6 separate regions of the Homo sapiens genome follow, and all the other regions are linked to region 4. Evidence: promoter capture Hi-C in human tissues and cell types (Jung and others, 2019). All regions are on one chromosome and are shown on one strand. Each heading gives the region's core, a stretch centred on a gene start or on the middle of the fragment in contact. The rest is flanking DNA. Distances are from core to core; before and after follow the strand shown. Region 1 holds the start of NELFA (negative elongation factor complex member A). Region 2 overlaps NSD2 (nuclear receptor binding SET domain protein 2). Region 3 overlaps LOC124900163 (chloride intracellular channel protein 6-like). Region 4 holds the start of UVSSA (UV stimulated scaffold protein A). Region 5 holds the start of PCGF3 (polycomb group ring finger 3). Region 6 holds the start of ZNF721 (zinc finger protein 721).

Region 1 (4,349 bases), core at 202-2,701, 660 kb after region 4:
CATCAGTAGCCAGGAACGTTTAAACAACCATGGGGCTTCAATAGTCTGCAAAACTACTCGGTTTATTTCGCACGGAAAGCGATACAATATAAAGTTTAGGAAAAAAGAAAACAAACCTCACACACCCACTTATTGGAATGACGCAAAACGGCGTGTAGAAAAGAGTAAAACGGACACAGAGCGCTCCGGACGGCCGGGGTCTTTGCGAGGTGAGAACAAGAAAATCCAGTCAGCGGACACTGGAGCTACCGAGCCCAGGCCGCCCCTTCCTCACGCGGGGGTTTCTCTCGGGATCCCCGCCCTCGCCCAGGTCACCAGGGCTGCGTCCCCGACGGGAAACCCCGATGGGAGACCCCGCTGGGGCCGGCGCACCCCCGCTCCAAGAGTCGGTCGCTTCGGCACGGTGGGGGATTAGGGTGGTGAGGACCGAAGGCGGGGGAGGCGGGGGCGGGTGGGGATGAGTACCCGGGGGCCCAGGGAGGGGAGTGAGGACCTGGGGGTCGTAGCGAGAACCCGGGGCCCGGCGGGGAGGAGATTGAGGATCCCAGGGGAGGTGAAAACTTGGGTAGGGGTGAGGACGAAAAGTAGGGAGGTGAGGACCCTAGTGGGGGATTCCCAGGGGGCGAGGAGGGGCGGGGGGTCCTGAAGACCCACGGTGGGGATGAGAACCGAGGTGGGAGATGAGGATCGAGGCGGGGGATGAGGACCCAGGGGGAGGTGAGGACTGGAGGGAGGTATTCGGAGGAGCGAGGAGGGGGCGTGAGGGCGGGCCGGGGGGGTTAACAGTCTGAAGGGGGATGGGAAGGTTGGGGGAGGGAGCGAGGAGGGTCCGGAGTTGGGTGTGCGGGTCGGAGGTGGGAAGGTTGGGAATCTGGGGGCCGCGGGGCGCCACGCCTGCCTTACCTCGTCCACCGTGCGGCGCGGGAGGTGCAGCGTCCCGAGTAGCAACTTGAGCTTCACTGCCGACGAGAGGCCATGGAAGCAGAGACGGATGTTGTCGATGACCGCGGCCGTGAGCAGGGACGCGATGCTGGGCGGCGCCCACAGCTCGTCCGTGGCCCCCAGCTTGTTGTGCAGCCACAGGCCCGTGTCGCTCTCCCGCATGGACGCCATCTTGGGGGAAAGCGCGCGCCGCTGCCCCGGCATCTTATGAAGACACCTACGCGTCCCTCGCTAGGACCCCAACATGGCGGCGCCCGTCGGGCTGCGGGCCGCAGAGGCGGCGCAGGTGGCGCGGTCCCACGAGCGGGGCTTCCCGGGAGAGCGCTTCTGGGTGGCGACCGCGTCTCCGGGTAGCGGCCGCGTCTTCGGGAAGCTTTGTGGCAAAGCCGAGAGCCGGAAGGACGGGGTGCCGCTGAGCAAGGACTATCGGCTTCCGTAAAACATCATGGCGGCGCCCTCTGCTGGCTCTCGGGAAGACCGCAAAAAATGACGTCACGAGCAGGCGCGCGTATTCGCGTCTTGGGAGCCCGGGCTGCGGCCTGGCATTCGCAGTGCAGGTGTCAAGCGCCGCAGACTTGCTGCTCGCGCGGTGGGGCGGAGGCTCCCTGTGGCACCTGCCCCGCTGTCCGCTCTTCGCTTTTTCCCCGCTTGGGTCTCGGCGCGGACCGTGTGGACGCCCCGCCCCCGCGGGCCCAGCACCTGCACGGAGAGGAGCCGCGGCCCTGCGGAGCGAGCCTGCGGGATCCCGGTCGCAGCGCTGAGCTTCCGTCCCCCGCTGAGCCCGCTCTGCCCGTGGCGCGCCGCCGACGGGGCTGCGCTGAGCATGCGGGTCGGAGGGCGCTCGGGAGCTGTCCAGGGGCACTCGTGACCCCACAGTGCAGGGAGGCCCCGGCCCCCAGTCGGGCTGGAGCCGCCAGGCAGGAGCCAGTAGTGAACTTTTCAGTTTTAAAAGCTTGTCATTAGATACAAACATGAGTAAAAGTTAAACTTCATTTTATTAAATTCGTTTTACCCTTTTGTCTTTTTGACGAGGCCTTCCTATGTTGGCCAGGCTGGTCTCAAACTCCTGGGCTCAAGCGATCCGCCCGCCCGCCTCTGCCTCCCAGAGTGCTGGGGTTACAGGTCGGGGCCGCCTTGCTTGGCTTCTGTATTATATCTTTTTTTTAAAAGATCTTTTCCTTATTGTTCCACTGCCATGCTCCTGCCGCCGTTCACAGCTATTGCCACTGGGCGGTGGGAACGCCGGGAGAACAGGGCTCAGCCCAGCTGCTAGCAGTGCCCTGGCCCTGGCGGCTTGAACTTGGCAGTCCTGCGGAAGTCACACGGGGGAAACCCGCAAATGCTACAAATCAGTGCTGGAGCGGTGGTTTTGTTGATTGCTTAAACTGAAGAAAGTGATAGAGAAAATGTTGATGATAAAGATTAAACTTAAAACTGTCATGTCGACAACCGTTACATTGCAAATAGCACATAAAATTTAAGAGAATATTTTTTAAATGATTCAAAAGTGTCGAATTCAGCAAAGACAAGTTATTGACTAATGGGTGAAGTTGTGACATCAGTGGGGCTAGTGCTGAAAGAAGTTTAATGATTAGGCCGGTCACGGTGGCTCACGCCTGTAATCCCAGCACTTTGGGAGGCCAAGGCGGGCGGATCACCTGAGGTCGGGAGTTCGAGACCAGCCTGGCCAGCATGGAGAAACCTCGTCTCTACTAAAAATACAAAACTAGCCGGGCTTGGTGGCGCATGGCTTGCCTGTAAGCCCAGCTACTCGGGAGGCTGAGGCAGGAGAATGGCTTGAACCCGGGAGGCGGAGTCTGCGGTGAGCCGAGATTTTGCCATTGCACTCCAGCCTGGGCCACAAGAGCAAAACTCCCTCTCAAAAAAAAAAAAAAAAGTTTAATAATTATAATCTGAGGGTAAGAAATAGTTTAACAGTGGACGACATATCAAATTTAGTATGAGAAGAGTGAAAGTTACTTCAAGTTGTGAAATCATGATTGAACCGTAAACATTAGTTGGTTGAAATGAAAATTTTTGTTCACAGAAACCTGTGTGCAAACGTTTATAGCAGCTTTATTTATAATAGCCCCAAACTTGAAACAATCCGAATGATTCTGACCCCCAACTGTCTGTAGCTTTCTGTAGGATACGCAGCACTTTTCTGTATACAGTGCTTGATGCATCTTGAGTCTTCAGTTTTATGCAGGAAAAATCCAAGTTAACATCTGGCTTAACCAAGAAGACAAACCACTAGGAGGACTTAGTTACAGCATCAGAAAGCAATGGATTAATATTCAGAATGAAAAAAGGAATGCTTGTAAATCGACGAGAAAAAGACCGACAATAGACAAATGTGCAGAAGATAAGAATAGGCAATTCACAGCCTGGCCATCATAGTGAAACCCCGTTTCTACTAAAAATACGAAAACAGTGGGGCGTGGTGGTTCATGCCTGTCATCCCAGCTACTCAGGAGGCTGAGGCAGGAGAATCGCTTGAACCCAGGAGGCAGAGGTTGGAGGGAGCGGAAATCACACCACTGAACTCAGGCGTGGGCCACAGAGCGAGACTCTGTCTCAAAAAAAAAAAAAAAAAAAAAAGCAATTCGTAGGAGAAACCCAAATACCGGAGAAGCACATGGAGAGATGCTTAAATTCATCAGCAACCTGACAAACCCAAATTAAAATAACAAGATGCCTCATTACACCTATCAGATTGCAAAATTAGAAAGCCAAAGTTTTTTTCATTTTAAAACATGGTATCCAGTTGTTCCCATATTATTTGTCGAAATGACGATCCTTTCTGGACTTTTCTATCCTGACTTACTCATCTATCTTTATGCCAATACCAGACTGTCTTGGTTACTATAGCTTTCTAAAATAAGTGTTGAAATCAGGTAGTGTTAATTCTCTGACTTTTTTTTTTTTAAAGTTATTTGGGTTATTTTAGGTCCTCTGTATTTCCTTTTTTTTTTTTTTTTTTTTTTTTTTTTTTGAGGCAAGGTCTGGCTCTGTTGCCCAAGCTGGAGTGCAGTGATGCAATCTCAGCTTGCTTCAGCCTCTACCTCCTGCGTTCAAGTAATTCTCATGGCTCAGCCTTGCAAGTAGCTGGGAATACAGGCATGCACCACCAAACCTGGCTAATTTTTGTATTTTCAGTAGAGACGGGGTTTCACCCTGTTGGCCAGGCTGGTCTAGAACTCCTGACCGCAAGTGATCCACCCACCTCAGCCTTCCAAAGTGCTGGGATTACAGGTGAGCCACAGTGCCCAGCCTGCATTTCCATATAAATTTTAGAATCGTTTGTCAATTTCTACAAAAAAAAAAAAAGGCTTCTGGCATTTTGAGTGGAATTGTGTTGAATCTGTAGGTCAGTTGAGGGAGAACTGGTAACTTCTGTCTAGTGA
Region 2 (4,481 bases), core at 648-3,147, 570 kb after region 4:
GTAGATTTGACTAGTTTCATCCCAGATTCTAACTTTCATTCTCTAACATTTTATTTTAAAAACTAGGTCAGAAAAAGAGTGCACGCCAGTATCACGTACAGTTCTTTGGTGACGCCCCAGAAAGAGCTTGGATATTTGAGAAGAGCCTCGTAGCTTTTGAAGGAGAAGGACAGTTTGAAAAATTATGCCAGGAAAGTGCCAAGCAGGCACCCACGAAAGCTGAGAAAATTAAGGTGATAGATGACCCTTCAGTCTACTTTTAGACCAGAAATTTAATTTTTATTCTTTAAGTTAACTTATTTTTGTTTTGAACTTATACTTGCTCGAAATATTGTAATGGCTTAACAATCTCTTTCATTGTTGACTTTTGCCCAAGGATGCCATGTTACAATATGATAAAGTTCTTTTAGAGACACAACTGATTTTTTTTTGCTCATTTGATGACTCTCAGAGATAACTTGTTTTAGAATTTATATATACACATATATGTACGTATATATGTGTATACACACACACAGACAGAGGGATTAATGTAATGTGATAGGAATTGATTTCTGGTTTAAAGAAACAATAAAGGTATTATGTTGGGCTGAATTCTAAAATTGGTTTTTAAAAGTTTTTATTTCTATTATTTTTTAAAATTTTTTTGAGATGGAGTTTCACTCTTGTCGCCCAGGCTGGAGTGTAATGGCATGATCTTGGCTCATTGCATCCTCTGCCCCTCCGGGTTCAAGCGATTCTCCTGCCTCAGCCTCCCAAGTAGCTGGAATTACAGGTGCCTGCCACCACGCCTGGCTAATTTTTGTATTTTTAGTGGAGACAGGGTTTCACCAGGTTGGCCAGACTGGTCTTGGACTCCTGACCTCAGGTGATGTGTCTGCCTCAGCCTCCACAGGTGCTGGGATTACAGGTGGGAACCACCACGCTGGCCAAGTTTTTTATTTCTAAAATTATGTGAAAATGTAAAAGTATTCTTTTTTTTTTTTTTTTTTTTGAGACAGGGTCTTGCTCTGTCACCCCAGGCTAGAGTGCAGTGGCGTGGTCTCGGGTTACTGCATCCGCTGCCTCCCAGTTCAAGTGATTCTCATGTCTCAGCCTCCCTAGTAGCTGGGACCACAGGCATGCACTACCATGCCTGGCTTATCTTTTGTATTTTAGTAGAGATGGGGTTTTGCCATGTTGACCAGGCTGGTCTTAAACTCCTGGCCTCAAGTGATCCATCTGCCTTGACACCCATAAGTGCTGGAATTATAGGCATGAATCATGTGCCTAGGAAAAGTAGTTAACTTTTATGTTTGTGTAGTGAAACTTACAGTGTCTCTTTTTTTTTTCCCAGCTATTGAAACCAATTTCAGGGAAATTGAGGGCCCAGTGGGAAATGGGCATTGTTCAAGCAGAAGAAGCTGCAAGCATGTCAGTGGAGGAGCGGAAAGCCAAGTTCACCTTTCTCTATGTGGGGGACCAGCTTCATCTCAACCCTCAAGTAGCCAAGGAGGCTGGCATTGCTGCAGAGTCTTTGGGAGAAATGGCAGAATCCTCAGGAGTCAGTGAAGAAGCTGCTGAAAACCCCAAGTCTGTGAGAGAAGAGTGCATTCCCATGAAGAGAAGGCGGAGGGCCAAACTGTGTAGCTCTGCAGAGACCCTGGAGAGTCACCCCGACATAGGGAAGAGTACTCCTCAAAAGACGGCAGAGGCTGACCCCAGAAGAGGAGTAGGGTCTCCTCCTGGGAGGAAGAAGACCACAGTCTCCATGCCACGAAGCAGGAAGGGAGATGCAGCATCCCAGTTTTTGGTCTTCTGTCAAAAACACAGGGATGAGGTCAGTACTAAGTTGTGTTTCATGCTAGCAAGTTTCAGAATTTGAGGAACATCCCTTCAGTGCAGAATCATCTGTTTCTCAGCATTATCAGGAGACTCTAACATGAGCCTTGCATAGATTTTAGATCTAATAAATAAGTATTAGGGAACAGCCATTCTGACCCTTGAGGGAAAAGATACTCGACTTGCACTCTGGGGTCTTAAAATATCCTTCCTAATGTGGATAAGAAGATACCGAGAACAGGCCAGGCACAGTGGCTCATGCCTGTAATTTCAGTACTTTGGGAGGCCAAGGCGGGAGGATTGCTTCAGCTCAGGAGTTTGAGACCAGCCTGGGCAACATGGTGAAACCCCATCTCTACAAAAATTAGCCGGGTGTGGTGGCACATGCCTGTAGTCCCAGCTGCTTGGGAGACTGAGACAGGAGGATCCCTTGAGTCCTGGAGGCAGGAGGATCCCTTGAGTCCTGAAGGTGGGGTTTGCAGTGAGTCGTGATGGCATCACTGCACCGTAGCCTGGGTGACAGCAGAGCGAGACTGTGTCTCAAAAAAAAAAAAAAAAAAAAACTAGCACAGAGGGAAGTGGGTCTCAACAGGCTGCGCTTTGCTTGAAGCGTGTGGTCATGTCCTTAACGTGTGACTCCAGGTTAGCACTTTCTCCAGCAGTCTGTTCTGAAGCTTCCAGTGCAGGATATGCTCATCTGTAAAGCTCATTGTGTCCACTGGCACTGAGGGTGTTGATTTATTTCCCTGACATTTAAAAGGGTAGCAATGTGATTAAGACATTTATATAATTTTCTTAATTGTTTGCATAAAATGCACAGTCTGTTAGTACATAATAAAGGCTGTAAAGAACTGAAGGAGTTGGGTTCCCCACTTCCCACTTTTGGTTATGTTACTTGGAGTGGATCATATTCTCATGCTTAAAAGGCTTTTTTTAAGTGTTCATTTTAATTTTACTTCCATAGGAATTTTCCATTCAGTAGTCTAAATCTATGTGGTGATTAAAGGTATCAAAAACAATAGTGTTGGCCAGGCACAGTGGCTCACACCTGTAATCCCAACACTTTGGGAAGCTGAGGCGGGTGGATCATGAGGTCAGGAATTTGAGACTATCCTGGCCAACATGATGAAACCCCGTCTCTACTAAAAATACAAAAAAAAATTAGCTGGGCATGGTGACGCGTGCTTGTAATCCCAGCTTCTCAGGAGGCTGAGGCAGGAAAATTGCTTGAACCAGGGAGTCGGAGGTTGCAGTGAGCCAAGATTACACCACTGCACTCCAGCCTGGCGACAGAATGAGACGCCGTCTCAAAAAAAAAGGAAAAAAAGTCTGTCTTCAAAAAATTTTCCATGAATCTTTAACCAGCATGTATTTTGTGGCAGGCAGTGTGGCACAATAAGGAGCCATGAGTAGTTCAGGCAGAGATGCATAAATGGGTGACTGTGAGTATTCTAATAAATCTACTGGACATGATTTTTTTGTCCCTATATGGGATCTGGAAATTCTGCCAGAGAAAGGCATTTGAGTGATGCCTTCAAGAGTGGCTGGGCGTGGTGGCTCCCGCCTGTAATCTCAGCACATTGGGAGGCTAAGGTGGGCAGATCACCTGAGGTTAGGAGTTTGAGGCTAGTCTGGCCTACATGGTGAAACCTTGTCTCTACTAAAAATACAAGAATTAGCTGGGCATGGTGGTGTGCGCTTGTAATCCCAGCTACTCAGGAGGCTGAGGCAGGAGAATCACTTGAACCGGGAGGCCACAGTGAGCTGAAATCATGCCGCTGCACTCCAGCCTGGGTAATCCTTAGGGCTTTTCTCAGGAATGCAAGGGTGATTTGATGTTAGAAAGCTATTATTGTGACTTACTGTGTAATGCTCATCTCCATAGAGGGAGAAAAGGCATTTGATAAAATTCATTGCTTTTTTTAATTAAGTAAACACCCTGTATTTATGGGGTATATGTGATATTTGGTACGTGCATTAAAGTTCATTGCTTTTTCTCCTTGGGAGGTTGAGGTGGGAGGATTGCTTGAGCCCAGGAGTGTTGAGGTTGCAGTGAGCTGTGATTGTGCCACAGCTTTCCAGCTTAGGTGACAGAGTGAGACTCTGTCTCATAAAAAGAAAAGAAAGGCCGAGTGTGGCAGCTCACACCTGTCATCCCAGCACTTTGGGAGGGTGAGGCAGGAGGATTGCTTGAGCCCATGAGTTTGAGACCAGCCTGGGCAACATGAAACCCTGTCTCTAAAAAAAAAAAAATTTTTTTTAATTAGCCAGATGTGATGGCATGTGCCTGTAGTCTCAACTACTCAGGAGGTTGAGGCAAGAGGATTGCTCGAGTCCAGAAGTTTAAGGCTGTGGTGAACCATGATCATGCCATTGCACTCTAGTCTGGGCCACAGAGTGAGACCCTGTCTTAAACAAAAAAATTATTGCTTATTGATAAAAGGTTAGTAAACCAGGAATAAAAGGGAACTTCCTAAATCTGTTTAAGGATATGTATCAGAAGCTTTCATCAAGGATATTACACATGAAACTTTAGAAGCATTCTCCTTAGGCCAGGCATGGTGGCTCACACCTGTAATCCCAGCACTTGGGGAGGCTGAGGCGGGTAGATCACTTGAGGTCAGGAATTCAAGACCAGCCTGGCCAACATGGTGAAACCC
Region 3 (4,200 bases), core at 508-3,007, 580 kb before region 4:
CCTGCTTGCAAACCCTCATTTAAATTGGTCCAGCATTTGCTACCAGAGTTTAGGCCACAAACTTTGTAAAGCTCAGTTTGTCTCCTTGCAGAAAGAGGTTGCTGCAGTTTGGAGCTGGTTATGCCAAGGAAAATACGGCTAAAAAAGAACTTACTGATTCCCATAGGTGTGTCAACTGACAAATGAATGTTCCATCTCCCTACGACAATTTGCTGCCCCTCCCCAAAAAAAGCACTATGGCCAAAATTTCAGTTTTTAAAGGTTAAGTAAAATACAACAATTCTGAAACTCTTAAGAGAACCAGAATTGGAAGGAAAGGAGAATGGCCAAAATTATATTCTCACAACCTAAAGCAGTAAACTTTAAAAATAGGTTCAGTCTTAGACTTGACTTAATTGACTTAGGCTGGGCATAGTGGCTCACACCTGTAATTCCAGCACCGTAGGAGGCCAAGGCAGGCTGATCATCTGAAGTCGGGAGTTCGAGACCAGCCTGGCTAACATGGTGAAATCCCGTCTCTACTAAAAAATATAAAAATTAGCCGGGTGTGGTGGCAGGGGCCTGTAGTCCCAGCTACTCAGGAGGCTGAAGCAGGCGAATCGCTGGAACACAAGAGGCAGAGGTTGCAGTGAGCCGAGATCACGCCACTGTACTCCAGCCTGTGCTACAGAGCAAGACTCCATCTCAATTTAAAAAAAAAAAAAAAAAAAAAAAAAAAAGGACTTGGCGGGGTGCAGTGGTTCATGCCTGTAATCCCAGCACTTTGGAAGCTGAGGCGGGTGGATCACAAGGTCAAGAGATCGAGACCATCCTGGCCAGCATGGTGAAACCCCATGTCTACTAAAAATACGAAAATTAGCCAGGCCTGATGGCACGCACCTGTAGTCCCAGCTACTCAGGAGACTGAGGCAGGAGAATCACTTGAACCCGGGAGGCAGAGGTTGCAGTGAGCCGAGATCGCACCACTGCACTCCAGCCTGGGCGACAGAGCGAGACTCCATCTCAAAAAAAAAAAAAAAAAAAAAAAAAGACTTCACTGACTCAAAGTGTATTTTACTTATTTTCGGCCAGTCCATCTGTCCATCTTAGAAATGTCAAGATACTGGCTGAAACCACAAGCAGACACTGATGTCAGCGTCAACTGCAGGGAGTAGGGGAAACACAAGTCCTCAAAATTGGGTCCACCCACTTTGGGGACTGGGCCATGAAGCCTGGTGATAGCAGCCACGGGAGCCTGAGGTCTGAGAGCTTCAAGCTCCATCTGAGCACAGTGGGTGGGGTCCCTGCACCAGGACCCCAGAAACAAGCTCTGGAAGTTGGTTCCTGTGGGTTCTGCAGCAGCTCAGGGCTGCAGGGACCTTGACGCTCTCACAGCAGAGCCAAGCCTCGGCCTCTCTGCTCGCTGGTGGTTTTGTTTCTCCCATGCAGTTCTGTGTGCATAAGACAAAAATCCTGTGTTAGTCATGTGTGTTAGTACACCTGTGACCGGGTGAAAGCCAAACAGTGTCCCCTGAAAGGCAGCAGAGGAACAGAAAAACAAGGGGGTTTGCTGTGATGAGACCCGCACCGTCTGCGTTCAGGAAGCCAGGGCCTTCTGCTGCTAGAGGCCCCTGAGGCCCACCAAATCCTCCCAAAGTAGATGTCCATATGGCTTCTAGTTTTTAAGGATAAAACTCCCTTGAGATGCACTGAGTCCCTCCTGAGGGGCTGTGGAGGGCTGAGCCTGCATTGGTTGGGAGGCCTGTGTCCTGACGGTGCTCTGCAGTAGCTACACTGAACGTCCCCTTTAATAGAAAGAATTATCTGTCTTCCGCTTACACAGAAATGCAACTGTGCTTACATAAATCAGCACAGAGTCCTAAATCCATAAATAAGCAAAGAGTCCTTTCTCTTACCCACATTACTCCTCAGTCAAGGAAAGTACACAAAGCACATTTGTTTCATTTTTTTTGGTGGCTTATGCTCCAATTGTGAGGAAGGAGATGCTCCCCTGGGCCCACCCCGCCCACCCCAGAGTGTCTGCCCACGCCAATTCCTGGGGAAGGTGTGGCCTGCTCAAGGGATAAGACTCCTGTCGACGTTGGACAAACAACCATTTGACCACTACATTTATTCCTATGTTTTTTCTTTGTGTGTGTGTGTGTGTGTGTGTGTGTGTGTGTAGACAGAGTCTCACTGTGTCACCCAGACTGGAGGGCAGTGGTGTGATCTCGGCTCACTGCAACCTCTGCCTCCTGGGTTCAAGCGATTCTCCTGCCTCAGCCTCCCAAGTAACTGGATTACAGGCACCTGCCACCACGCCAGGCTAATTTTTGTTTTTAGTAGAGACGGGGTTTCACCACGTTGGCTGGGCTGGTTTCTAACTCCCAACCTCTGGTGATCCGCCCGCCTCGGCCTCCCAAAGTGCTGGGATTACAGGCGTGAGCCAGCGCGTCCAGCCGAAGGTTGCTTTTTTAAAGCATTTTTAGTCAAAGTCTTTTGAAAGATGAAAGGTCTGGCCTTGGTCACAGTAGTCCTGCTGTGAAGACGCATGAAGGTGCCCTGGGTCAGGGGAGCAGCCAATTTCACTGACACCCTGGGACGCACAACCAGGACCTGACCTCTTGCTGGGAGATTACCCCGAGACTTCAGTCATCACCATGCACACTGCCTTGTAGGAAGGCTGGGAACCCTCAGGTGGCGACAGCCCCCAGTCTGCCAGGGCCCCTCAGAGGTTGAGGGGGCAGGGTCCCTCCTCACATTTCTCACCTGCAGCTGGTGCCACAACTGTGAATGTTGGAGTTGTCCAGTCCCACAGCTTCCTCTGCCCCACAGCACAGGGCAGATTGGCCTGCAGGGCCTCATCACCCCCATTCTCTGAGAGGAGATGTGGCTATCTCTGGCAGGCCTCGCTCTGGCTGGTAGCTTTCTCCTGGGCTGCCATCTTCTAGTGCCAGTGAGGACTCTGGTCATCTCACCTGCTTAATTCCCATACTGTGTTGTCCACAGCTCTGCTCGGGTCTGGTAGTGAGAGGTGACAGTGTGCTGGCAGCCCTCTCAGCCCTCGCTTGCTCTCGGCACCTCCTTGGCCTTGGCACCCACTCTGGCTGCCCTTGAGGAGCCCTTCAGCCCGCCGCTGCACTGTGGGAGCCCCTTTCTGGGCTGGCCAAGGCCAGAGCCGGCTCCCTCAGCTTGCAGGGAGGTGTGGATGGAGAGACAGACGCGGGTGGGAACCAGGGATGTGGGCAGGCTTGCAGGCCAGCAAGAGTTCCGGGTGGGCGTGGGCTCGGCAGGCCCTGCACTCAGAGCGGCCAGCCGACCGGCTCTGCTGGCCCCGGGCAGTGAGGGGCTTAGCACCTGGGCCAGCAGCTGCTGTGCTCAATTTCTCGCTGGGCCTTAGCTGCCTCCCTGCAGGGCAGGGCAGGGCTCGGGACCTGCAGCCCACCACGCCTGAGCCTCCCACCCCTTCCATGGGCTCCTATGTGGCCCCAGCCTCCCCGACGAGCACTGCCCCGTGCTCCACGGCACCCAGTCCCATCGACCACCCAAGGGCTGAGGAGTGCAGGCGCACAGCACAAGACTGGCAGGCAGCTCCACCTGCAGCCCCAGCGCAGGATCCACTGGGTGAAGCCAGCTGGGCTCCTGAGTCTGGTGGGGACTTGGGAGAAGCTTTATGTCTAGCTAAGGGATTGTAAATACACCAATCGGCACTCTGTATCTAGCTCAAGGTTTGTAAACACACCAATCAGCACGCTGTGTCTAGCTCAGGGTTTGTGAATGCACCAATCGACACTCTGTATCTAGCTACCCTGGTGGGGACGTAGAGATCTTTTGTGTCTAGCTCAGGAATTGTAAAAGCACCAATCAGCACCCTGTCAAAAACGGACCAATCAGCTCTCTGTAAAATGGACCAATCAGCTCTCTGTAAAATGGACCAATCAGCAGGATGTGGGTGGGGCCAGATAAGAGAATAAAAGCAGGCTGCCCGAGCCAGCAGTGGCAACCTGGTCCTGTCCCCTTCCACACTGTGGAAGCTTTGTTCTTTTGCTCTTTGCAATAAATCTTGCTGCTGCTCACTCTTTGGGTCCACACTGCCTTTATGAGCTGTAACACCGCAAAGGTCTGCAGCTTCACTCCTGAAGCCATCGAGACCACGAACCCAGTGGGAAGAATGAACAACTCCAGACGCGCCGCCTTAAAAGCTGTAACACTCATCGTGAA
Region 4 (4,437 bases), core at 1,440-3,939:
CCAGCCTGGGCGACAGAGCAAGACTCTGTCTCAAACAAAAACAAACAAGAATATCGTCTAACTCTCATCATGATTTATCTTGGCTTTCTAATCTTATCCAGCATTCAACAAATATTGAGCACCTGCTTTTTGTCTGGCTTCATGAAACAAAGATCCCTATTTTCAGGGACTGTATGTTTTAGGAGTGAAGAGAAAAAAGCGAATCACCTAGTAAGACAGTAAGTCTGTGTGACACAAGGGCCAGAAGTGCCCTGGGAACAAGCACGGCAGGTTTAGAAAACGGATGGGGGGTGTTGAGCCAGGGAGGTGAGCGGGTGCAGAAGTATTTGCTCAGGGTGAGACATGAGCAGTGGCTGGAAGGAGGCAAGGAACTCTGTGGATACTGGCAGAAGCTTCCCGGCAGAGGGATCCGCTCCCCAGAGGCCGTGTGGCAGCAAGAGCAGGCTGGAGAAGTCAACCGGTGGGATGCAGGGGGCAGCAAACACAGGCCACGACAGGTTTTGCCTTGCCCTGGGATGGGAGCCGTCGGAGGATTTTGTGTAGAGGAATCCTGTGATCCGACCTTAGACTTTCAAAGGTCCCTCTGGTTGCTGCATGATGGTCTAGGGGTACCAGGGTGCAAGGGAAAGACAAGGTGACGGCAGTGACCTGCTGCAGGGGTGGCCAGGAATTGGCAGTGGCAATGAGGCAGTGGGACGTGCTCAGATCTGGATGTGTTCTGAAGGTAGGGCTGTCAGGATTTGCAAACCAAATGGGCATGGAGTGAGAGGAAGAGAGAAGCCCAAGTGAGTCAGATAATTGGTCCAAGCGAACAGAAGGATGCAGGGCAGGCCCAGGCACGGTGGCCCAGGCACGGTGGCTCACGCCTGTAATCCCAGCACTTTGGGAGGCCGAGGCGGGCGGATCACCTGAAGTCAGGAGTTCGAGACCAGCCTGACCAACATGGTGAAACCCCGTCTCTACTAAAAATTCAAAAATGAGCTGGGCGTGGTGGCGGGTGACTGTCATCCCAGCTACTCGGGAGGCTGAGGCAGGAGAATCGTTTGAACCCGGGAGGCGGAGGCTGCAGTGAACCGCGATCGTGCCACTGCACTCCAGCCTGGGTGACAAAGCGAGACTTTGTCTCAAAAAAAAAAAAAAAAAAAAAAAAAAAAAAGGCTGCAGGGCCATCAGCGGATACAGAGGGCAGTGGACGGGCAGCTTGGCTGTGCTGTTGAGCCTGAGGGCTGAGAGGACACCCCGGGGCAGTGTAAAGGAGACTGGACTTAGCAATTGGTAAGAAAAGTTGGATAAAGAGAGGGTTTTGTTAGTATGGGAGAAACGGCACCCTTTTATACTAATGAGAACTAGTAACAACAAAAAAAACCACGCTGTAGAAGACAGAGGGAAACTGCTGGATGGGTGCCTTGGAGGAAGCCACAGGCCGGGGATTGGATGCACAGGGCAAGGGGCGCTGAGGGAGGGTCTGGCTGCAGCTTGCTCAGTGAAGCAAGAGGCAGGGTGAGGAAGGGGTGAGGCGGAGGAGCGGCTCGGGGCTGGCTGCAAGCTAGGAGCTGGGAGCCACTGACGCCCAGGGACAGAAGCTGGTGCTGCAGAGAGGGGCGGCGCAGGGAGTCCCTCTTCTTTTCCTTTTTAAAATAATTGCTTTACTGAGATATAACTCACACATCCTGAAACCCACCCTGTAAAAACACGATTAACAGAGTTGTGAGCTACCACCACCGTAATGCAAGGGCACGCCCATCCCCCCGAAAAAGAAACCCCGGCCCGCCGCCGGCGGCCCCCGCCCTGCACCCAGCCCCGGGAGCCCAGTCGGGCGTCTGCTCTGCGTGGCCTGTGCCGGGCGCCCCGCGAGTGGGGTCCACACCACGCTCCTCCGAAGCCACGGTTTCCCAAGCGCGGTCTCCAGGTCCGTCCGTCCGCAGCCGACCTCGCACTCCCCTGCGTTCGAGGCTGCGGACTTCGGCGGCAGGACGGACGGCGCCTCTGCTTCTCATTCCGCCCAGGGCCAGCCCGGGCCCAGGGGTACCTGCTGTGCGTCTGGCGCCGAGGTGGGCCCCGAAGACCCCCAAGCCCGCCCAGGGATTCCCTTCCCGAGGCCGGAGCGGGGAGGCGCCGCGGGGTTCAGGGCGCCCTGCGCGGGGCGAGCTCGGGGGCGGGGGCCCGCGCCCGCCCGTCTGGGCGGTCCTCACCGGCCCTCTGCAGGTGAAGGGACCTGGCTGCGAGCCCGCGGGCGGGCGTGGCGTTGAGGCCCAGACCGGAACTTCCTTTCGGCCTCAGTTTCCCGGCCGGCCCCGCCCCCGGCGCCCGTACATGCGGCCCCTTTAAGGACTTTCTGCGCCCTCCCGCCTCTTTTTTCTCGTGCGTCCCCCTCCCCACCCCCGGCAGCCTGCCTCGCCCTCGCCGGGAGCGCGCCTACGTCACCGCGCAGACCTCGGCCGCGTCTTTGCGCCTGCGCCTCCTGGGCTGGGGTGAGCCATTGGCTGTCGAGCTCAGGGCACGTGCTAGGGGGCGGGGCCTTGACCGGAAAGGGTGGGGCAACGGCGAGAAAGGCCGCGTCGAGCGGTAGGTGCAGTCGTCGCTGTGGTGACCCCAGGTCCTGATGCGTCCGGCCCAGGGCCAGCCAATGGCGGTAGAGGTCTTGGGCACCTGACAAGAGGGGCGGTCCCCCCGCCGGAAGGGGCGGGGCGAGGCGAGCGGCCGCGTCAGCGGTAGGTGGGGCTGTGGTTACGCTGCCGGGCGGGGGTCGCGCCGGTTCGGTCCCCGGGGCTCTGCGGGCGCCGGGCAGAGACCTGCGGCCAGGGCGTGTCCCGTGTGCCCGAGAGCGCCGGCGGCGGGGCCGGAGGGCGGGCCCTGGGCCGAGTGACAGGCCGCAGCCCCCCGAGCACCGTCGAAGCCGGCGCGCCCGCCCGGTGCAGCCGCTGTGCGAGAGCGACCCCGCGGTCCAAGCCTCGCGTGGCCCTGCCGGGCCCCTTCTTTCCCCGAGTAGGGCGCAGCTTCCCAGCCTCCGCCCCGGCCTCGCCTGGCGCTTCCTTCCGGGTCCTTCGGCCTTTCCCTGGCGGTGCGGCAGGCCCTCGCCTCATCCCACCAGGCACGCCGCGGTGCTCGGCCCTGGGTATCCGGGCAGGCTGCCTCCGTTAGGGCCGCCCCTGCTCTCCGGACGCGACTTTTCATTGGTCTCAGAATTTCTTGGCTCCTCTTGGCCTCTGCAGCCTTGCTGGAGGCTGCCCTGCGGAATCTGAGTGAATAAGGGAAACAGCAACAGTCACGTTGGGGAAAAGCTGATTCGGACAGCGCCACTGGTTCCTTTAACGCACGACCCTCAATGCAGCGTCCCACACACGGGATTGTAGAGGTCCCGAGTTTAAGGTTCACTTTTAAAACTGCAATCACCGCCGTAAAGGCCTTGCTGGACACACATATTTCCCAGAGAGGCACCCACAGATGGACCCCAGCCTCAGGGTCCTCCCGGAGCTTTCGGTTTATAGTGGAACCCAGTAAACACGTTAATAACACCGAGAGCTATAAAATACAGATGGTGATATAGCATCTCTGCCTTACTTATTTCTAGATATGGATCAGAAACTTTCGAAGTTGGTAGAAGAGCTCACAACTTCAGGAGAACCCCGACTAAATCCTGAGAAAATGAAGGAACTGAAGAAAATTTGCAAGTATGTCTTAGGGTTCAGTAACAGTAACTGACTGGCCCACTGAGCCCAGGACACACACAGGGCCCTGCCCTCCTGCCCCCACCTGGGAGAGAACCACCCGAGGGACACACCCAGGACATTTTCTCGGGGCCCTGCAGTACCCGGCTCTGACGGGTGGTCATGTTCTGGGGTCGGGGCGTGTGGCGTTGGGGACCCCACTGCTCTGTGGTTGGTGCTTCTCTTCATTCCCATTTGTGTGGTCTGGAGCACATCCTGTAGGAGTTCTTGAGTGCACAAATGTGATTCAGAGAGAAACGTGCATCTTTTTCTTTGCTGCTGGACTTTTCGAAGGGAAAGAATAGAGCTTGCTGATGGGCGAGTTGGTCCATCGCCTTTAGGGTATGTCCACCTCTGTTCACTTCCTCCAAGGAAAACGCCGGAGGGGATCTCTGCCGTCACCCTCAGGCAGCCAGAGATTCATGGGGGAAGCAAAACTTCCCCTCGGAGGGTGGAGCATAAGTCGAGGACACTGATTATTCTGTATCCTGTGTTTGTAAAATGGCAGTTTATAGATTGTTTATACAGTGATGGAGTGTTGACATTTTGATAGAAAATTTCAGGTCAGGTTTTGTGGCCTGCGCCAGGAAATCGAATTCGCAATGGTTTATGTGGGGTCAGGAGCTGGGAATAGGAGCATTCAGGAGGGGCTGGGAGATGTCCCGAGCTCTAGGCCTTCCTTCCTTCCTGCAGCAGGAGGCACCCAGCTGAAACAGTGTGCGTGCTGGGC
Region 5 (4,130 bases), core at 692-3,191, 640 kb before region 4:
GTTCTGAACTGCAGCTTACCACTCTGCCTCTTCCTGAGGCCACCACACTCAGCCCAGGACTGTTCCTGGCCTGCTGGCCACCCCCTGCCCCTTGCACCCCAGCACCAATACCTTGCCCCTGCCCTCCTTCTGGGATGATCCTCCAGTCCTCCCCTCCACATCTGGGGCCTGCCTCCACCAACTGAAAACTGCAGTCAGGGCTCTTGTGGAGGGCCAGCACCCCAGTACCCCAATCCCAGGCAGCCCTCTCCAGTGGGCCCCTCCCCTGCACTGGGCCACCCCATGGCTCCACGGAGCCCTCCCTGCCTCCCCTCCCCCGGGGGCAGCAGTGGCCACATTTAGTCCCTCCCCTTCACAGCAGCATGCCTGGGAATGCTGTACACATTCACATGTCTGCTGTCTGTCCTCCTCCCACCCGGATAACGTGTCCACCCAGTGCTGGAGATCTCAGCAGGCCCCCAGCCCTTCTCAGGCCCCTCTCAGCAGCGGACTCAAGCCGCTTCCCCACGTGCTGCACCATACCTGGGCCCGGGGCCCCCTGCCTGGTGGCTGCTCCCGGGGTCCAACTCTAGACTTCACGGGGACAGTCGCAGGGTCACTCCCTCAGCCACCACCTCTCCAGACGGGACGAGCTAATGACTCCCGACTCCTGCTCCATGCCTGCACCGCACAGCCTCGCAGCGAGTGCCCCTGGGCCTACGGGGCCTCCCCTCTCGCCACCAAGCCTCCACACTGCGCGGTGCCCCGCCGCCCGGAACCACAGTGGTCTCGCTTCCCACCCAAGACCCAACCTGCCCTCCCGTCCTGGGCCGCCAGCCCAGAACCCGCAAACCGGGAGACCCTAGGACCCCGCGTGCCTGCACGTCCGCCTCACCCCCGCACGCGCCCTCGGTCCTCGGATCCCGCCCTCTCAGGACAGTGCCAGTCCCACGAAGGCGCAAATGCCGCCCGTACTGCTCCACCCTGGCGGAGGGCACCCAGGTCGGAGAGTCCGCACGTGGGTGCCCTGTCCGTCCTGATGCTGAACATAACCTAAATACAAGCCTAAACATGACCAGACCCGAACCCCTGACCCTGACCCCACCCCTAATCCTGACCCTAACCCTAAACCCAACCCTAACCCTAAACCTAACCCCTAACTCTGACCCTACCCCTAATCCTGACCCTAACCGTAAAACCAACCCTAACCCTAACCCCTAATGCTGACCCTAACCCTAAATCCAGTCCTAACCCTGACTCTAACCCTAACCCTGACCCTAACCCTAAAACCCAACCCTAACCCTAACCCTGACCCTAACCCTAAACCCAACCCTAACCCTAGACCAGACCCTAACCCCTGACCCTGACCCCACCCCTAATCCTGACCCTAACCATAAACCCAACCCTAACCCTAACCCCTAATGCTGACCCTAGCCCTAAACCCAGTCCTAACCCTGACTCTAACCCCTAACCCTGACCCTAAACCTAAACCCAACCCTAACCCTGACTCTGACCCCTAACCCGACCCCTGACCCTAACACCGACCCTTAACCCTGCCGGGAGGGCGCTCAGTCCCGGCTCCCACAAAGGACAGCAGCACCCGTACTGGACGGCACCCCCGGAGGGACCCGGGCCTGAGGACTCTGCTGCTCCAGCGCCCCAGCTCACGATCGTCCAGGACCCGTCGGGTCCCTCAGCACAGCGCGGCCCTGTCGCTCTCCTGACCACGCCCCTCATGGCCCCGCCCTATGCCTCGCCCCTGGCCCTCGCGCCCCGCGGCTCCCTCCGCCGAGTCCAGGCCCGACGCGCCTGCGCCCTCTGAACACGCCCCTCCCCGCCCCTATCCCCACCCCTTACCGCCTGGCCCCGCCCACGCCCCTTGCCGCGGGGTGGGAGCCCAGACGCACACCGCGCATGCTCCGAGCGCGGCGCCCCCGACGCGGCGCTCGGCTCGGCTCGGGCATTTCCGCCTCTTTGTTTTAAACTCCGGACGGGCTTTTTTCTCCTCCTCTTGGGGGGGACCCAGAGGGAGCGGCGCCCCCTCCCCCCTCCGGCGCGGACCCCGCGTGCGCCTTGCTCGCCCGCAGCCCCGAGACCGCAGGTCAGTGAGTCCGCCCCGCCTGGCCTGGGCCCTCGGCGCCCGCTCCTCAGGCTGCGGCCTCGGCCCGTGTCCGGCCCGGAAGGCTCCGAACCCCGGGCCCGCGCTCCGTCGTCCCCGTCGGCCTGGCCCGGGAAGCCCTTGGCAGGCCCGGGAGGGCCGGCACCCCAGCCCAGTCAGGACTCCGGGAGGTCGAAGACCCCAGCCCAGGCAGGACTCCGGGAGGGCCAAGAGCCCAGCCCAGGCAGGACCCCGGGAGGGCTGGGACTCCAGCCTAGGCAGGACGCAGGGAGGGCAAGACCCCAGCCCAGGCAGGACTCCGGGAGGTCGAAGACCCCAGCCCAGGCAGGACCCAGGGAGGGCTGGGACAGCAGCCCAGGCAGGACGCAGGGAGGGCAAGACCCCAGTCCAGGCAGGACGCAGGGAGGGCAAGACCCCAGCCCAGGCAGGACTCCGGGAGGTCGAAGACCCCAGCCCAGGCAGGACCCAGGGAGGGCAAAGACCCCAGAACAGGGAGGGCCAAGACCCCAGACCAGGCAGGACCCCGGGAGGGCCAAGACCCCAGACCAGGCAGGACCCAGGGAGGGCGAAGACCCCAGCCCAGGCAGGACCGCGGGAGGGCAGGGACCCCAGACCAGGCAGGACCCCGGGAGGGCCAAGACCCCAGACCAGGCAGGACCCAGGGAGGGCGAAGACCCCAGCCCAGGCAGGACCGCGGGAGGGCAGGGACCCCAGACCAGGCAGGACCCTGGGAAGGTCGCGACCCCAGCCCAGGCAGGACCCAGGGAGGGCGAAGACCCCAGACCAGGCAGGACCCAGGTGAGGGCGAAGACCCCAGCCCAGGCAGGACCGCGGGAGGGCAGGGACCCCAGACCAGGCAGGACCCTGGGAAGGTCGCGACCCCAGCCCAGGCAGGACCCAGGGAGGGCGAAGACCCCAGACCAGGCAGGACCCAGGTGAGGGCAAAGACCCCAGCCCAGGCAGGACCGCGGGAGGGTAGGGACCCCAGCCCAGGCAGGACCCTGGGAAGGTCGCGACCCCAGCCCAGGCAGGACCCCGGGAGGGCTGGGTCTTCAGACCAGGCAGGACCTGAAGAGAGTTGGGCTCTGGGATTGCACAGGACCCCCAGAGTGCTAGGACACAATGACACATCATCCAGGAGGGTCTGACCCTGGGACAGGTCACCGAGAAGGGCTGGGACCCCAAGATGGGTCACCAAGGAGGGTCGGACCTGGCCACCTGGCAGGGCCCGGGGGGGCTAGGACCCTGGGAAGAATCACGGAGGAGGGCCAGACGTAGGGACCAGGCAGAATCCAAAGAATGCCAGGACCCCAGAATAGATCCCCCAGGAAGGTCCTGCCTTAAAGTGGGTCACAGACGAGGGCCAGGACCCCATGACCATAATTCAGGAGGACCTGACCCTGGAGCAGTCTTGTGAGTCCTGTGAGCACTGCTGGGACCCTGAGACTGCCCCGTCTCCCCCGGGACCCTGAGACAGCCCTGTTTTCCCCTGGGGGCCGGGACCCTGGGACAGCCTGTTTTCACCCGGGGGCCGGGACCCTGGGACAGCCCTGTTTTCCCCTGGGGGTCGGGACCCTGGGACAGCTCTGTTTTCCCCTGGGGGTCGGGACTCTGGGACAGCTCTGTTTTCCCCTGGGGGTCGGGACCCTGGGACAGCCCTGTTTTCCCCTGGGGGTCGGGACCCTGGGACAGCTCTGTTTTCCCCTGGGGGCCGGGACCCTGAGACAGCTCTGTTTTCACCTGGGGGCCGGGACCCTGAGACAGCTCTGTTTTCACCTGGGGGCCGGGACCCTGGGACAGCTCTGTTTTCCCCTGGGGGCCGGGACCCTGGGACAGCCCTGTTTTCCCCTGGGGGTCGGGACCCTGGGACAGCCCTGTTTTCACCTGGGGGTCGGGACCCTGAGACAGCCCTGTTTTCCCCTGGGGGTCGGGACCCTGGGACAGCCCTGTTTTCCCCTGGGGGCCGGGACCCTGGGACAGCCCTGTTTTCCCCTGGGGGTCGGGACCCTGGGACAGCCCTGTTTTCCCCTGG
Region 6 (4,539 bases), core at 1,199-3,698, 850 kb before region 4:
TTTTTTTTTTTTTTTTTTTTTTTTTGAGACGGAGTCTCGCTGTCGCCCAGGTTGGAGTGCAGTGGCGCGATCTCGGCTCACTGCAGGCTCCGCCTCCCGGGTTCACGCCATTCTCCTGCCTCAGCCTTTTGAGTAGCTGGGACTACAGGTGCCCGCCACCGCGCCCGGCTAATTTTTTGTATTTTTAGTAGAGATGGGGTTTCACCGTGTTAGCCAGGATGGTCTCGATCTCCTGACCTCGTGATCCGCCCACCTCGGCCTCCCAAAGTGCTGGGATTACAGGCGTGAGCCACCGCGCCCAGCCTATGACTTCTGAACGCTCTAAGTGTAAGCAGAAATAAACACCAGCTGGTTGTTAATGTTATCTTTAGTCATTTAAAAAGAATTTGCAAGACAAAATTCCAAATCAATTTTCTTACCTAGTGATGGGGCTCAAGCTGAAGACGGCTATCTGTCGATGCAGAAGCAGGCAGGCTTGCCTTCCTTGATGAAGCGAGTGGGAACTCCCAAAAAAGGAGTTTTTTAACAGCAAATAAACCTCAGACCCCCCACCGAAAAACGTTGGAAGATCAGGGATCCCTGGAGGAACAAGGTCCCAGATTTCAGCAATCATCCTACCAGTTTGGGCAATAAGGTGCCAAGCCAATACCGAGGATCAATAGGCGAACTGCTGCAGGCCGGGTTACCTTCACTGAGGATCTCTCAGTGCTTATCAATGTCAATCGAGAAAAATGACAAGTCTTAATCATTTCAGGAGGCTTATTTCCCAAAGTTAAGGACGCCCATGACACAGCCTCCGGAGATCCTGACGACGTGGGTCCAAGGTGGTCGGGGCACAGCTTGGTTGTATTCATTTTAGGGAGTCACGAGATATCAATCATATGTATAATAACAGGCCGGACAGGGCGCGGTGTCTCACGCCTGTAATCCCAGCTCTTTGGGAGACAGAGGCGGGCGGATCACGAGGTCAGGAGATTGAGACCATCCTGGCTAACATGGTGAAACCCGTCACTACTAAAAAATACAAAAAAAAAAAAAAAATTTGACGGGCGTGGCGGCGGGCGCCTGTAGTCCCAGCTACACGGGAGGCTGCGGTAGGAAAATGGCGTGAACCCGGGAGGCGGAGCTTGCAGTGAGCGGAGATGGTGCCACTGCACTCCAGGCTGGGCGACAGAGCGAGACTCCGTCTCAAAAACAAACCAACAAAAAAAAAACAGGCCGGGCGCGGTGGCTCATGCCTGTAAATCCCAGCACTCTGGGAGGCCGAGGCGGGCGGATCACGAGGTCAGGAGTTCAAGAACAGCCTGACCAACATGGTGAAACCCCGTCTCAACTAAAAATACAAAAATTAGCCGTGCGTGGTGGCACGCACCTGTAATCCCAGCTACTCAGGAGGCTGAGGCAGGAGAATTGCTTGAACCCGGGAGGCAGAGGTTGCAGTGATCTGAGATCACGCCACTGCATTCCAGCCTGGGCGACAGAGTGAGATTTCATCTGAAAAGAAAAAGAAAAAAAAAAAAAAAAAAAAAAAAAGAAGGACATTGGTTCTGTCCAGAAAGGCGGGGGCAACTTGGAACAGGGAGGGGGCTTCCAGGTCACAGGTAGGTGACAGACAAATGGTTGCAGTTTCTGGGTTTCTGATAAGCCTCTCCAAAGGAGGCTATCAATATGCATTTATCTCAGTGAGCAGAGGAATGACTTTGAATAGAATGGGAGGCAGGTTTGTCCTGAGCAGTTCCGAGCTTGTCTTTTCCCTTAGTTTAGTAATTTTGGGGCCCCAAGATTTTCCTTTCAGAAAAAAGAAAATGTGGTATATATACACAATGGAGTACTATTCAGCTCTAATAAAAGAATGAAACCCTATCATTTGCCACAACACGGATAAACCTGAGGATATCATGTAAGCAAAATAAGACACAGAAAGACAAATACCTCATGATCTCACTCATGTGGCATCTTTAAAACGAAGTTAATCATTAAGATATTTACCAGTTGTCTGAGGTATTGGGTTGAATTTTCTTTTTTTTTTTTTTTTTGAGACGCAGTCTCGCTCTGTTGCCAGGCAGAAGTGCAGTGGCGCGATCTCGGCTCACTGCAACCTCCGCCTCCCAGGTTCAAGCGATTCTCCTGCCTCGGCCTCCCGAGTAGCTGGGACGACAGGCACCCGCCATCACGCCCCGCTAATTTTTTGTATTTTTAGTTGAGACGGGGTTTCACCATGTTGGCCAGGATAGTCTCGATCTCCTGACCTCGTGATCCGCCCGCCTCGGCCTCCCAAAGTACTGGGATTAAAGGCGTGAGCCACTGCACCCTGCCTTCCAAATTAAAAACTTTTTAAAACCTCGTACCTCGCCGTGGGCGGCGACCGTCGCGGACTCGCCGGGAAGACGGCCCCACGGAGCCGGGAACACCGCCCGCTGTTCGTATGTCCGAGGTGACGCCCCGCTGTGGCGGGCTGGCGGAAGTGACGCGCTGCTGTGGCGCGCCGGCGGACGTGACGCCACTGTCGCTGCGACGATAAGGCCTGGCGTTATTGCTTAGAGGCGGCTACCTGGAGCCGGAAGCGCGGCTGCAGCAGGGCGAGGCTCCAGGTGGGGTCGGTTCCGCATCCAGCCTAGCGTGTCCACGATGCGGCTGGGCTCCGGGACTTTCGCTACCTGTTGCGTAGCGATCGAGGTGCTAGGGATCGCGGTCTTCCTTCGGGGATTCTTCCCGGCTCCCGTTCGTTCCTCTGCCAGAGCGGAACACGGAGCGGAGCCCCCAGCGCCCGAACCCTCGGCTGGTACGGACCCCTCCCCGGCGTCTCCGCTCCCCTGACCCCACATCCCCTAGAAGACCTTTTTTCTGAGCCTCGCTGCTCGGATTTCTTCTCGGCGCTCCCCGGTGGTCTCTTCCATTATGGTCCCCACCTCAGAAATTTTTTTTAACCGCTCCAGCGTCTCTTTTCTGTATTCTTACAACTTTGTGGCAACCACCTCTACTGGCCCCACTTCGACCTTCCTTCCTGATCACCACAAAGTAAGCTGTGTCCATACCTGGGATCCAGCCTCTCCACTTCTACTCGTCCAGAGCTCCCGCCCCTTTCCTGAGCAGCCTTTGGGTCACTCCCCGTTATAGGCGCCCTTTTTGCCCCCTAGCACACAACAGATAAGACCCCTGCCGATCCCCTCGCGTTTTGGTCTCTTATATTCCTCCAAGATGTTTTCCCTGCCTAGGGGCTAAGGCCTCTCTGCGTTAGGCCTCTTCCTAGGCTTCACCTACCCAGCCATATACAGCAAGTAAAGGCGCCCTGGTTCTGGACCACTTGCACACATCGCCAGCCGCTGACCATGTAAACGCAGTATGTAAACGCCCAGCCATCCCGTAGCTGCAGCTCTGCGTTTTAGGTCAAGCTCCCTAAATGTCCCATTCCAGGACCCTTACGTAGGGATTCTCCTACCCCAGTACTCTTCACCATACTGAGGATAATTCACTGCTTGCTACTGTGGGTCCCTAAGATTACTCCTGTTAACCCCCGTCCTTTCCCCCCAGCACTACCTACCAAGTACAAGTCGCCTCCTTTTGGGTTGGGTTATGTAGATATCGCAGGGTATGTGCTGGAGAAGTAGGTAGAAGCTAGATTGTGAAGGTGCTTGATGCTAAGGAAAGTTTAGAGTTCAATTTCCTTTTTTTTCTTTCAAACACTTAGGAGCCAGTTCTAACTGGACCACGCTGCCACCACCTCTCTTCAGTAAAGTTGTTATTGTTCTGATAGATGCCTTGAGAGATGATTTTGTGTTTGGGTCAAAGGGTGTGAAATTTATGCCCTACACAACTTACCTTGTGGAAAAAGGAGCATCTCACAGTTTTGTGGCTGAAGCAAAGCCACCTACAGTTACTATGCCTCGAATCAAGGTAAGTTTGCCTTAATGTTTTATGAATCATGGTTTGGCTGTTTTGAAGATTTAGAGGGGGTCTCTGTAGTCTTTCGCTTGGAGTTGCAATTTTAAGAAAGTGGAAATTTTGTGCTGTCAGTTGGCTGGGGCAATAGAATGTTGAAGGAGCCTCACACGGGATGGAACTGAGACCCATCATTTGTGCCCCATGTCAAGTAGCCAAAGCTCATGCTTCATGGCAAATATAAAAGATTTAGAGCAAGATCATCCAGGCTAACCTACCCCAAGATATGCCATTCTTGGTGACCTGCTTTCTTCTTTAATCGTCACTGGGTCATTTACAATCTTAGAAGGAGCCTTTAGAGTTAATCTAGTTCAGTCTCTAGACTTTATAGATAGGAAAGCAAACTCAGATAAGTTAAATGTGACTTCTCCAAAATTATCCACCAGTATACATAATGATCAAATCAGTATGTTCCGGCCTCAACAATTACCACTGTTTCCACCATATCCTTCAGGTGTCCAGCCTACTGACAGCAGCTTTGAAGTACATAGTGCATTTCCCAAGAACCGTGGGTAAAGAAAAAAGTAAGCCTTTATTGATTGGCTCAAAACTTTTGAGCAACGACTATGTGGTGATACTTCAATGGGTATGCAATTGGGG

What was found. The method cuts DNA at HindIII sites, captures the fragments that hold promoters and counts their contacts. A contact is called where the count stands out against the background at its distance.
Region 1: a fragment that was not itself captured here is called in contact with the fragment with the promoter of UVSSA in region 4 in 1 of the 25 tissues and cell types used here (lymphoblastoid cells).
Region 2: a fragment that was not itself captured here is called in contact with the fragment with the promoter of UVSSA in region 4 in 1 of the 25 tissues and cell types used here (bladder).
Region 3: a fragment that was not itself captured here is called in contact with the fragment with the promoter of UVSSA in region 4 in 1 of the 25 tissues and cell types used here (IMR-90 fibroblasts).
Region 5: the fragment with the promoter of PCGF3 here is called in contact with the fragment with the promoter of UVSSA in region 4 in 1 of the 25 tissues and cell types used here (lymphoblastoid cells).
Region 6: a contact is called between the fragment with the promoter of ZNF721 here and the fragment with the promoter of UVSSA in region 4, in 1 of the 25 tissues and cell types used here (lymphoblastoid cells).

The regions. Positions count from the first base shown.
Region 1 is chr4:2,007,847-2,012,195 of GRCh38, forward strand. NELFA (negative elongation factor complex member A) reads right to left here and starts at 1,128. Exons shown (of 11, transcript NM_005663.5): 1 at 904-1,128. The coding sequence starts at 1,113. LOC124900839 reads right to left here. Exons shown (of 4, transcript XM_047416543.1): 4 at 1,160-2,327. The coding sequence starts at 1,915. The coding sequence ends at 1,160. RefSeq lists enhancers at 811-1,311, 919-1,438 and a silencer at 1,499-1,878. The HindIII fragment of the contact is 4,627 bases long and covers 1-3,765 here.
Region 2 is chr4:1,916,805-1,921,285 of GRCh38, forward strand. It overlaps NSD2 (nuclear receptor binding SET domain protein 2), which reads left to right. Exons shown (of 22, transcript NM_001042424.3): 4 at 67-233; 5 at 1,337-1,819. Among named protein-coding and RNA genes, the nearest start is that of NSD2, 48 kb to the left of the region's middle. The HindIII fragment of the contact is 3,023 bases long and covers 387-3,409 here.
Region 3 is chr4:770,370-774,569 of GRCh38, forward strand. The region is part of intron 1 of LOC124900163 (chloride intracellular channel protein 6-like); the gene reads right to left. The region is part of intron 1 of PCGF3-AS1 (PCGF3 antisense RNA 1); the gene reads right to left. Among named protein-coding and RNA genes, the nearest start is that of PCGF3-AS1, 9.4 kb to the right of the region's middle. The HindIII fragment of the contact is 4,145 bases long and covers 1-3,830 here.
Region 4 is chr4:1,344,519-1,348,955 of GRCh38, forward strand. It overlaps UVSSA (UV stimulated scaffold protein A), which reads left to right and starts at 2,690. Exons shown (of 14, transcript NM_020894.4): 1 at 2,690-3,242; 2 at 3,572-3,671. The coding sequence starts at 3,574. RefSeq lists enhancers at 407-930, 931-1,453, 3,299-3,378 and silencers at 1,749-1,838, 2,059-2,388, 2,629-3,068. The HindIII fragment of the contact is 13,201 bases long and covers 1-4,437 here.
Region 5 is chr4:703,891-708,020 of GRCh38, forward strand. It overlaps PCGF3 (polycomb group ring finger 3), which reads left to right and starts at 1,942. Exons shown (of 11, transcript NM_006315.7): 1 at 1,942-2,080. RefSeq lists enhancers at 1-689, 1,730-2,715, 2,716-3,700 and a silencer at 1,665-2,364. The HindIII fragment of the contact is 34,476 bases long and covers 1-4,130 here.
Region 6 is chr4:496,708-501,246 of GRCh38, forward strand. ZNF721 (zinc finger protein 721) reads right to left here and starts at 2,449. Exons shown (of 3, transcript NM_133474.4): 1 at 2,349-2,449. It overlaps PIGG (phosphatidylinositol glycan anchor biosynthesis class G (EMM blood group)), which reads left to right and starts at 2,503. Exons shown (of 13, transcript NM_001127178.3): 1 at 2,503-2,782; 2 at 3,689-3,894. The coding sequence starts at 2,629. RefSeq lists enhancers at 1,735-2,600, 2,164-2,643, 2,601-3,464. The HindIII fragment of the contact is 23,753 bases long and covers 1-4,539 here.